Regions from separate parts of the Homo sapiens genome. Here regions 2 and 3 are each linked to region 1. Evidence: promoter capture Hi-C in human tissues and cell types (Jung and others, 2019). All regions are on one chromosome and are shown on one strand. Each heading gives the region's core, a stretch centred on a gene start or on the middle of the fragment in contact. The rest is flanking DNA. Distances are from core to core; before and after follow the strand shown.

Region 1 (3,951 bases), core at 118-2,617:
CTGTGTCACCATCAGGAAGTTTTCGTCAGCCAGAAGATCAGTGCCATTGCTTTCCTCAAGTTTCCTAAATTCCTCCATCATTCTAGATTTTATCACAGGTTCATGTTGTGTCTTTCTCAGTTTGAAGCCATAGTCAAACCCACTGCCATCTTCGGAGACACCCAGCATATCATACCACAGTCGGGCAGGCCCATAACGCCACTCAGCCACTCTTGGTTTGGTATCTGTCACTTTATCTACATCTCCAGTTGATTGGGAAAATTTGGACTCCACAGGAACCATCATCGTGATTTCATCATCAGCGAGACACTGCTCTGGGGGTGGTGGTGGAGCATAGTCATAGTTCCACAAAGACTTCTGGCTGACTTCTGATTCTACTGAGCATTCCACCTCCTGGATCTGCTCTTCCTGTATCAGCTCACGATGCTTCTTCCTCTTTCTCCGAGCACTCCGCCAAACAGATGGGACATTCTTCCCTGGTCCAAAAAGATGTAGGAAGCGTAACACTTTTCCAGGTCGAAATTCTGGAAAAAGTTCGGTGACACTTGGCAACAGCTTGGTGGCATCATGCTGCATAATCCCAGCCAATGGAAGGGTCAGCTTTCCATCCTCAGATTCTGCCTGTGTTGCTTCCTGAGGTCCCATCTCAGATTCTGAATCAGAGTAACTACTGAAATCCACTTTCTCTGAGGCCAAAAAGGAAGGGGCAATGATGGAGGGCAAGATGATGTCTTCTCCACTTTCAGACACACAGGTAATAGCATCTTGGTCCTTATCCTTCTTCATTGGTCCCGGGGGTGGAGGTGGAGGAGGCATCAACTTGCAATCAATGTCTTCACAATCAGCATCATAGTCATCTTCATCATAATCCGAGTGGTAAAGGGGCTGCAAGCTCCCCATCGTCTGCTGGTGTCTTTGGCTTTCATCTTCTGCCACCTCATTGATGTCTGAATAGTCTACAGCATCTTCTGTACTCCTAATCCACCCTTCATCATTTACCAAGGCACCGCCAGTCCCAGTCAATTCTTCATTTGCCGTGAGTTCAGTGATTAGGCTGCCCAGCCCCAAAGCCCCCAAGCCTGCCAAGTGCTTCTTACACTCATCATCCAAGACGCTTTCCCCCTCCAGCTGCCCCGCTCCACTGATGTTGCCGAAAAGGATACCCGCTAAAGTAAATGGGCCACCTCCAGATGAATCTTCCTCGCTGTCCGAGTCTGACATGATGGCGGCAGTGACGGTAGCTGCTGCCCTCAGCAGCAAATCGCAGCCGGGTCGCATAAACCGGAAATAAAACAACAGTCGCCCGGAAGTGATCTACTTAGCTCCCTTACCCTACCAGCGTCTACCGGAAGCTGAATAAAGGCGGGGGGAGGGGGCAAAGGGGCGGGGGGAAAAACCCGCAAAACTTTTTTTTTTTTTTTTTTTTGAGACGGAGTCTCGCAACGTCGCCCAGGCTGGAGTGCAGTGGCGCGATCTTGGCTCACTGCAAGCTCTGCCTTCTGGGTTCACGCCATTCTCCTGCCTCAGCCTCCTGAGTAGCTGGGACTACAGGCGCTCGCCACCACGCCTGGCTAATTTTTTTTTTTTTGTATTTTCAGTAGAGACGGGGTTTCACCATGTTAGCCTCTCGATCTCCTGACCTCGTGAACCGCCTGCCTCGGCCTCCCAAAGTGCTGGGATTACAGGCGTAAGCCACCGCGCCCAGCCTGTTTGCTGGTTTTTGAGACAAAGTCTTGCTCTGTCGCCCCAGGCTGGCGTGCAGTGGCACAATCTCGGCTCACTGAAACCTCCACCTCAGGAGTTCAAGAGATTCCTGCCTCAGCCTCCACAGTAGCTGGGATTACAGGCATGAGCCACCATGCCTGGCTAATTTTTTGTATTTTTAGTGGAGACAAGATTTCACCATATTGGCCAGGCTAGTCTTAAACTCCTGACCTCAGATGGTCAGCCCGTCTCTGTCTCCGAAAGTGCTGGGATTACAGGCGTGAGCCACTGCACCCAGCCTCTGTAAATCTCTTTATACATGAACTGCATATGTATGCTTCTCCAAATAATCTATAGCATTGTCATGCTTTACAATTTTGTATAAAAGGCATCTTACTGTGTGTACTCGTTTTTTTTTTCCCCCTTCCTTTTTTTTAAGAGATGGGATCTCACTATGTTAGCCAAGCTGGTCTTAAACTCCTCCTGGCCTCAAGCAATCCTCCCACTTTGGCCTCCCAAAGTGCTGAGATTACAGGCAAGAGCCACCAAACCCGACCTTACTGTATGTACTCTTAGCCAGAATGTTTTCTGGATAAAATTTATGTTTATGATATTCAACTATGTTGATGCATTCAATTCTATTTTTATAGCTCTATAGTGTTCTACAGTATGGTTATGCTACAATTTATCTATGTTCCTATGTTTGTTCATTTAAATTGTTCCCAAATTGTTCCTCTTATAAATAATGTATATGATTCCTTGAGCATATGTAGGACACATTCTCCAGGGTATACATCTAGGAGTGGAATTACTAGATTTTACAATATATGCTTTTTCAACTACACTTGCTATTACTAAATTGTTCTCCAAAGTAGTTGTACCATTTTACATACCTAACAGCAGTGTATAAAAGTTCTCACCTCTCCACATCCATTCTAACACTTAGCATTGTCATTTGTTAATTTTTGTTCATTTCTAATAAATGTATAATGATAATGTGGTTTTAATTTGTATTTTTCTGATTGCTACTGAAGGCTAACTTTTCATACACTTATTGACCAACTGTTTTTCCTCTTCTGTCAATTGCCTTTTCATATATTTTTATCTAATTTTTATAGTATCTTTAGGTTATCTGTCTTTTCTTTAATGTATAACAGTTCTTCATATATTATGGATTTGCTTGCAAATAACTTCCCCAGTCTGTGACATGTCTTTTAATCTATTTTAATGGTGTCTTTAATATATATTTTAAAATTTCAATCTTATCAAATTTTTCCTTTATGCTTTTTTTTTTTTTTTGAGACAGTCTTGCTCTGTTGCCCAGGCTGGAGTGCAGTGGCGCGATCTTGGCTCACTGCAACCTCTGTCTCCAGGTTCAAGTGATTCTTCTGCCTCAGCCTCCCCAAGTAGCTGGGACTAGTCTAGTCAACTGTCTTAATGATTTTCACAATTTGATTGCAGATTATCTTGGGTGGTTGTTTATGTAATCCTCTATAAGTAATCATATTTAAAGTGTTATTATTTATCATTCTATTTTTAAATACTATCAATTGTGTATGCATGTTTTTATCTCTTCCTTTTAGATAACCAATAGTATTTACTTTTCCACCTTGCTTTTCTTGCTTAAAAATATATCTTGGAGATTACTCTGTAGTAGTTTATAAAGAGATTCCTTCTTATTTTTGATAACTGTAGAGTTATCACTTGGGTGAGTATACCAGCCACCCATTGACAGGTATTTGAGTTGTTTCCAGGCTTTGCTATTTCACACAGTGCTGCAGTGAAAAGTCTTATGTATGCATCCTTTTTTTTTTTTTTTTTTTTTTTTTGGTCAGCACATCTTTGGGATAGATTCCTGCAAGAGGGACTAGTGGGTCAAAGAGTAAATGCAGATATTATTTCATCGGTATTTGCCAAGTTCTATTCCTTAGTTGTTGAACCATTTTTCATTCCTAACAGCAATGAATGAGAGGGACAGTTTCCCCAAGCCTCAACAACATAGCATGCTGTCAAATTTTTGAATTTTTGCTGATCTCATAGGTATAAGACAGTATCTCGCTGTAGTTTTAATTTCATTTATCTTATCATGGATGACATGGAGTATCTTTTCAACCAAGGGGAATTTGCATTTATTTTTCCTGTGTATTTGTTCATATCTCTTATTCATTTTTCTAAGGTTGTTAGTCCTTTCTCCTCTTTTTAAATAAGATTTTAATATGTTAGGGATATTTACCCTTTCTGTAATAT
Region 2 (4,257 bases), core at 719-3,218, 34 kb after region 1:
AAGATATGGAAAAAACTAAGTGTCCATCGACCAATGAATGGATTAAGAAAATGTGGTATATATACACCATGGAATACTGTTTGGCCATAAAAAGGAACAAAATAATGTTTTATTTGTAGCAACTTGGATGGAGTTAGAGGCCATTATTCTAAGTGAAGTAACTCAGAAATGGAAAACCAAAAACCATGTGTTCTCACTTATAAGTGGGAGCTAAGCTATGAGTTTGCAAATGCATACAGAGTGATATAATGGACTTTGGAGACTCAGAAGGGGGAGGGAGGTGAGGGATAAAAAACTGCATATTGGGTACAATGTACAATACTCGGATAATAAGTGCACTAGAATCTCAGAATTCACTGCTATATAATTCATCCATGCAACCCCAAACCCCAAAAGCCATTGAAATTTTATATATACATATATATATACACATGTATAAATTCTAATCCAATAGGCCTGGGGTGGGCCTGAGAACCTGCGTTTCTAACAAGCTCCCAGGTGATGCTGATGCTGCTGGCCCACAGCACATTCTAGCAAGTGGATAGAACAGTGGTTCTCAAAGTATGGTGCCAGTACCATCAGCATCACCTGGGAACCCAGAAGAAATACAGATTTTCAGGGCCCATTCCAGATCTACTGAAATAGAAACTCGGGTTGGAGATCCGGCAATCTGTCTTTTCAAGTCTTCTGCATGGTTCTCCTGCACCTTAGAAAGTCGTGATAGTGCTGAAAAACCACTGGGGTGAAAAACCACTTTGGGCTAGAGCATCAAAAGGTTGGGTAATGGTATTGAAAGATACTAGAAATGTACATGGGGTATAAAGAATGTGGCATACAAAGAGTTAGAACAGGGGTATCCAATCTTTCGGTTTCCCTTGGCTATACTGGAAGAAGAAGAATTATCTTGGGCCACACATAAAACACACTAACACTAATGATAGCTGATGAGCCAAAAAAAAAAATTGCAGAAAAATCTCATAATGTTTTAAGAAAGTTTACAAATTTGTGTTGGGCCACATTCAAAGCCATCCTGGGCTGCATGCTGCCCACGGCCCACGGGTTGGACAAGCTTGAAGTTAGAATTTTATCCTATAGGCAACAGGAAATTCCTAGATAGTCTTAAGAAGAAGAGTAATTGAATTCGAAGTTATTTTAAGATCTTTCTGGCAGAAGTGTCCCTTTGAGGCACCTCCCAACTATGGTACGAAGTGTCCTAGTTGCTTTGGTTTCACTGACGGGCCTTTCCACCCATCTTCCCAAGGCCTCTGCCCCCCTACAGAAAGCTTCGGGTCCTATGACAGCTCTGGGTCCTGCCCAATGTTTGCTGGGCTGATTTCCCTGGTTTCTGACCTGGTGCCTGTCCATTGATTCTTCCTCTTTCCTGGGTCCCTTTTGGGGGTGGCTGCCTTTGGGCTGTCAGTGCCCTTTGACTTGACTTCTCCTGGGGCCATTGCCTCTTGGGTCTTCCTAACTTGGCTTTAAGTGCTGCATTCCACCATCGCCCTCATTCCCGTGCCACATCCGACTCCCACTCCAAGCAGAGCGTAGTGCCATGGGCCTTGGCTTGTCTGGGAGGAGGTGCTAGACAAACAGTTGAGAGAGACTGCATATCTGGCTGGCAGTGACTTGCTAGGTGACCAAGGCCAAGCAACTTACCTCTCTGGGCTTCAGTTGTCTCATTCATATAACCCAGTCTCCGGGATTGGATTTAAACATCATTCAAGAGACCCAATATAAAGCTCTACAATTCCATAGAAAACATTTGCTTTGTAGGATTACTTTATTGAAAAATATGTCCAATTACAAGTCTTTTTTCTTGGATATGGAAGAAGCTTACTTTTTCAAAATATAGAATCTGTTTTTACAAGCTCAACATCAAGGTGTAGAAGGATAATAAATTAGAAATAGTAACCAATGTTTTGCCCCCAGATATCTCCCCTATGCCCTTTGCTTCTGTTCAAGTAAGTAGACAATTCTGAGTTTATGGCCTTGGGAAGAGTTATGACACATTTGAAAGCAGAAAAAAACGGTGTCTATCTCATGCCAGTCAGAATGGCAATTATTAAAAAGTCAGGAAACAATAGATGCTGGTGAGGTTGCAGACAAATAGGAACACTTTTACACTGTTGGTGGGATTATAAATTAGTTCAACCATTGTGGAAGACAGTGTGGTGATTCCTCAGGTTTCTAGAACCAGAAATACCATTTGACCCAGCAATCCCATTACTGGGTATATACCCAAAGGAATAGAAATAATTCTACTGTAAAGACACATGCACATGTATGTTTATTGCAGCACTATTTACAATAGCAAAGACATGGAACCAACCCAAATGCCCATCAATGATAGACTGGATAAAGAAAATGTACATACACACCATGGAATACTATGCAGACATAAAAGAGAATGAGTTCATGTCCTTTGCAGGGACATGGATGAAGCTGGAAGCCATCATCCTCAGCAAACTAACACAGGAACAGAAAACCAAACACTGCATGTTCTCACTCATAAGTGGGATTTAAACAATGAGAACACATGGATGCAAGTTAAGCAATGAGAACACATGGATGCACACACCAGGGCTTGTTGGGGGTGGCGGACAAGGAGAGGGAGAGCATTAGGACAAATACCTAATGCATGTGGGGCTTAAAACCTAGATGATGGGTCGATAGGTGCAGGAACCACCATGGCACATGTATAACTATATAGCAAACCTGCACACATTCTGTATCCCAGAACTTAAAGTAACATTTTTAAAAAGAGGGGTGTCACCCCTGCTTTGGCTTCTAGAATTCTAAGCCTTTAGGACAGAGGCTGCAAAGTGGTAGCGCTTAGGGCAAAACTGAGTCACAGATGTGTTTTGTTGGCCCTGCGGTGATACTTTTCCAAAATGAATTGATTTTCAACATTTGAAATCAGAAAGGTTTGCACCAACCGAAACTTTCCACCTTCTTCTTGAAAAAATAAATGGTGGACCTGAACAAGAAGAGCCCTGTACCCCCTTTCCTGGGCCAAAGGGGCCTGGGAAGACAGCAAGACTGTGAAGCTTTAGCTTATGCAGAGCCCCATGCAGCTCCAGAGACTCATCGTAAAGATAGTGGGAGATCTGCTGAGCTCAGGACCAGCAGATGGACAGCTCAGGGGTGACATGTGTGGTCCATGGCTAAGGATGTCTTCCGACAGGCCTGATGTTTGTGGGAAGTGTGCTGAGGCCAGGACCAGCAGATGGAAAGCTCAGTGTGACACGTATGGTCCACAGCTAAGGACCCAATGGCATGAAGGTTGGATCTCAGCAGATGCCTTGGTGGACCAAAGGCATAGAAGATGGGATGTTTCCTATTACATCTGGTGCCCCAGCTCAGAACTGAGACACAATCCCCTGGGATGGAGAGAGTAATAGAAAATCCCTAACATCAAGATTAAGTCTCTGCCATATAAATAGAATGGGGGCTCAAAACAGAAATCAGTGTGAATTTTAGAAAAGAAAAAGAAACATATTTTCTGCATGCCTCAGTTTGGAACTTAAATATGTACCCGTTATAAAAGAAAGTAGGATTTTCCTTATGTACTTGTTTTCTATGTGCACACATCCTTTTAAAAATGACATCAGGTATGGGTGAGAAGGGTAGCAGGAGAAATGAGAATTGTGGTTGAATCTTTTCCTCCAGAATGAGACAACTGATTCATTCTAAAGAGCTTAGAGATGGATTTGATCTTTACACCAGTGGATCTTGACATGTTTGGGTCATGTACTCCTTTAAGGAGCTGATAAAAGAAACCTTCTGTTATGAAAAACATACATGGACACAAAATTTATACAATTCTATACAAATTCCAAGGGCTTCAGAACTCAAGCCTCTTTGGAAGCCCATCCACAGACCCCAGGATAAGAAATTTGCCTCTGCCTGCTACTCTTCCTGTCCCCATTTTCTTCCAGGGATTACAGTGAAAGGAGAGAAAATCCTCAGCCTATTTGGAATACAAAGAAAACTGCCACCCACAGTCTGTCACCCTGGCACCCTCACCATCTGCAGCCTTTCAAAGCTCTTGCCTGTTCCCACCTCCTTCCAGAGCTGTGTTGCTGAGGCCTCTTCCACAGGCCAGATGTTTGCTGAGCTCTGCCCAGAGCACCCTCTTTGGGACTGCCTCATACTGATGCACATTAAAAATAAAAGGGATGGGGCTCTGCATGCTCAGTGCGCTTCTGGCAGGGGACACTTAAATTTGCTACTTGTCAGGAAATTCACTCTGAACAC
Region 3 (3,919 bases), core at 1,237-3,736, 54 kb after region 1:
CTAAATGCCCACAAGAGAAAGCAGGAAAGATCTAAAATCAACACCCTAACATCACAATTCAAAGAACTAGAGAAGCAAGAGCAAACAAATTCAAAAGCTAGCAGAAGGCAAGAAATAACTAAGATCAGAGCAGAACTGAAGGAAATAGAGACACAAAAACCCCTTCAAAAAATCAATGAATCCAGGAGCTGGTTTTTTGAAAAGATCAACAAAATTGATAGACCGCTAGCAAGACTAATAAAGAAGAAAAGAGAGAAGAATCAAATAGACGCAATAAAAAATGACAAAGGGGATATCACCACTGATCCCACAGAAATACAAACTACCATCAGAGAATACTATAAACACCTCTACGCAAATAAACTAGAAAATCTAGAAGAAATGGATAAATTCCTGGACATGTACACTCTCCCAAGACTAAACCAGGAAGAAGTTGAATCTCTGAATAGACCAATAACAGGCTCAGAAATTGAGGCAATAATTAACAGCTTACCAACCAAAAAAAGTCCAGGACCAGATGGATTCACAGCTGAATTCTACCAGAGGTACAAGGAGGAGCTGGTATCATTCCTTCTGAAACTATTCCAATCAATAAAAAAAGAGGGAATCCTCCTGAACTTATTTTATGAGGACAGCATCATCCTGAAACCAAAGCCTGGCAGAGACACAACAAAAAAAGAGAATTTTAGACCAATATCCTTGATGAACATTGATGCAAAAATCCTCATTAAAATACTGGCAAACCGAATCCAGCAACACATCAAAAAGCTTATCCACCATGATCAAGTGGGCTTCATCCCTGGGATGCAAGGCTGGTTCAACATACGAAAATCAATAAATGTAATCCAGCATATAAACAGAACCAAAGACAAAAACCACATGATTATCTCAATAGATGCAGAAAAGGCCTTTGACAAAATTCAACAACCCTTCATGTTAAAAACTCTCAATAAATTAGGTATTCATGGGACATATCTCAAAATAATAAGAGCTATCTATGACAAACCCACAGCCAATATCATACTGAATGGGCAAAAACTGAAAGCATTCCCTTTGAAAACTGGCACAAGACAGGGATGCCCTCTCTCACCACTCGTATTCAACATAGTGTTGGAAGTTCTGGCCTGGGCAATCAGGCAGGAGAAGGAAATAAAGGGCATCCAATTAGGAAAAGAGGAAGTCAAATTATCCCTGTTTGCAGATGACATGACTGTATATCTAGAAAACCCGATCATCTCAGCCCAAAATCTCCTTAAGCTGATAAGCAACTTCAGCAAAGTCTCAGGATACAAAATCAATGTACAAAAATCACAAGCATTCTTATACACCAATAACGGACAAACAGAGAGCCTAATCATGAGTGAACTCCCATTCACAATTGCTTCAAAGAGAATAAAATACCTAGGAATCCAACTTACAAGGGATGTGAAGGACCTCTTCAAGGAGAACTACAAACCACTGCTCAATGAAATAAAAGAGGATTACAAACAAATGGAAGAACATTCCATGCTCATGGGTAGGAAGAATCAATATCGTGAAAATGGCCATACTGCCCAAGGTAATTTATAGATTCAATGCCATCCCCATCAAGCTACCAATGACTTTCTTCACAGAATTGGAAAAAACTATTTTAAAGTTCATATGGAACCAAAAAAGAGCCCACATTGCCAAGTCAGTCCTAAGCCAAAAGAACAAAGCTGGAGGCATCAGGCTACCTGACTTCAGGCTACAGTAACCAAAACAGCATGCTACTGGTATCTAAACAGAGATATAGACCAATGGAACAGAACAGAGCCCTCAGAAATAATTCCACATATCTACAACTATCTGATCTTTGACAAACCTGACAAAAACAAGAAACGGGGAAAGGATTCTCGATTTAATAAATGGTGCTGGGAAAACTGGCTAGCCATATGTAGAAAGCTGAAACTGGATCCCTTCCTTACACCTTATACAAAAATTAATTCAAGATGGATTAAAGACTTAAATATTAGACCTAAAACCATAAAAAGCCTAGAAGAAAACTTAGGCAATACCATTCAGGATATAGGCATGGGCAAGGACTTCATGTCTAAAACACCAAAAGCAATGGCATCAAAAGCCAAAATTGACAAATGGGATCTAATTAAACTAAAGAGCTTCTGCACAGCAAAAGAAACTACCATCAGCGTGAACAGGCAACCTACAGAATGGGAGAAAATTTTTGCAACCAATTCATCTGACAAAGGACTATTATCCAGAATCTACAATGAACTCAAAACAAATTTACAAGAAAAAAACAAACAACCCCATCAAAAAGTGGGTGAAGGATATGAACAGACACTTCTCAAAAGAAGACATTTATGCAGCCAAAAAACACAGAAAAAATGCTCATCATCACTGGCCATCAGAGAAATGCAAATCAAAACCACAATGAGATATCATCTCACACCAGTTAGAATGGCGATCATTAAAAAGTCAGGAAACAACAGGTGCTGGAGAGGATGTGGAGAAATAGGAACACTTTTACACTGTTGGTGGGACTGTAAACTAGTTCAACCATTGTGGAAGTCAGTGTGGCGATCCCTCAGGTATCTAGAACTAGAAATACCATTTGACCCAGCCATCCCATTACTGGGTATATACCCAAAGGATTATAAATCATGCTGCTATAAAGACACATACACACGTATGTTTATTGCGGCACTATTCACAATAGCAAAGACTTGGAACCAACCCAGATGTCCAACAATGATAGACTGGATTAAGAAAATGTGGCACATATACACCATGGAATACTATGCAGCCATAAAAAAGGATGAGTTTATATCCTTTGTAGGGACATGGATGAAGCTGGAAACCATCATTCTCAGCAAACTATCGCAAGGACAAAAAACCAAACACCACATGTTCTCACTCATAGGTGGGAATTGAACAATGAGAACACATGGACACAGGAAGGGGAACATCACACACCGGGGACTGTTGTGGAGTGGGGGGAGTGGGGAGGGATAGCATTAGGAGATATACCTAATGCTAAATGACGAGTTAATGGGTGCAGCACACCAACATGGCACATGTGTACATATGTAACAAACCTGCATGTGGTGCACATGTACCCTAAAACTTAAAGTATAAAAAAAAAATTGTGTCCCATGCTGTAAAACCATGTTCATTTTCTTAATGTGCCATATCCAAAGCAATGTATTCTTGCTCGGGTAGACTGAGATGTTATTTAGAGTAAAAGGTTGGCAGTGGCATAAGGGCAGGATGGAGAAGAGAGAAAGGCTCTGTACTTATCACCTCCTCTCTTCCTACTAAGATACGCAGTTCTCCTTGTAGTAGCTGCAGCCTCTATGTTTCGATACTACTAGTAATGGGATAACTAGGCCTTTTCTCTTCCCAATGTCAACAGTCCCATTCACTTCCAATCTGGTAAATTGGAAACAAATTAATGACTCCTAGTTTCATTTATCATACTTCAGTGACTCTTTCTTAACCTTTAAAAGGCTTATTTCTCGTTATAATTATCATTATTGGCTGGGCACAGTGGTTTATGCCTGTAATCCCGCACTTTGGGATGCCAAGGTGGGCAGATCACTTGAGGTTAGGAGTTCGAGACCAGCCTGGCCAACATAGTGAAACTTCATCTCTACTAAAATACAAAAATTAGCCGAGCATGGTGGTGGGTGCCTGTAATCCCAGCTACTCGGGAGTCTGAAGCAGGAGAATTGCTTGAACCTGGGAGGTGGAGGTTGCAGTGAGTGGAGATAGTGCCACTGCACTCCAACCTAGGCAACAGAGCAAGACTCCATCTCAATATATATATAATGACAGAAGGTGATATATATAGATATAGATAGATATATATCATTACCAAGCCAGGTTACCCCAGAATTCTAGCCTTGCATTTCACTATTTACCAATGAGCAGGTATCCT

What was found. The method cuts DNA at HindIII sites, captures the fragments that hold promoters and counts their contacts. A contact is called where the count stands out against the background at its distance.
Region 2: a fragment that was not itself captured here is called in contact with the fragment with the promoter of TAF1L in region 1 in 10 of the 25 tissues and cell types used here (H1 embryonic stem cells, IMR-90 fibroblasts, adrenal gland and 7 more).
Region 3: a fragment that was not itself captured here is called in contact with the fragment with the promoter of TAF1L in region 1 in 3 of the 25 tissues and cell types used here (adrenal gland, dorsolateral prefrontal cortex and mesendoderm cells).

What each region holds. Positions count from the first base shown.
Region 1 is chr9:32,634,302-32,638,252 of GRCh38, forward strand. It overlaps TAF1L (TATA-box binding protein associated factor 1 like), which reads right to left and starts at 1,368. Exons shown (of 1, transcript NM_153809.2): 1 at 1-1,368. The coding sequence starts at 1,278. The HindIII fragment of the contact is 9,470 bases long and covers 1-3,951 here.
Region 2 is chr9:32,667,496-32,671,752 of GRCh38, forward strand. No RefSeq gene overlaps it. Among named protein-coding and RNA genes, the nearest start is that of TAF1L, 34 kb to the left of the region's middle. The HindIII fragment of the contact is 3,952 bases long and covers 1-3,944 here.
Region 3 is chr9:32,687,140-32,691,058 of GRCh38, forward strand. The region is part of intron 5 of LOC105376017 (a long non-coding RNA gene); the gene reads right to left. Among named protein-coding and RNA genes, the nearest start is that of TAF1L, 53 kb to the left of the region's middle. The HindIII fragment of the contact is 5,325 bases long and covers 1-3,919 here.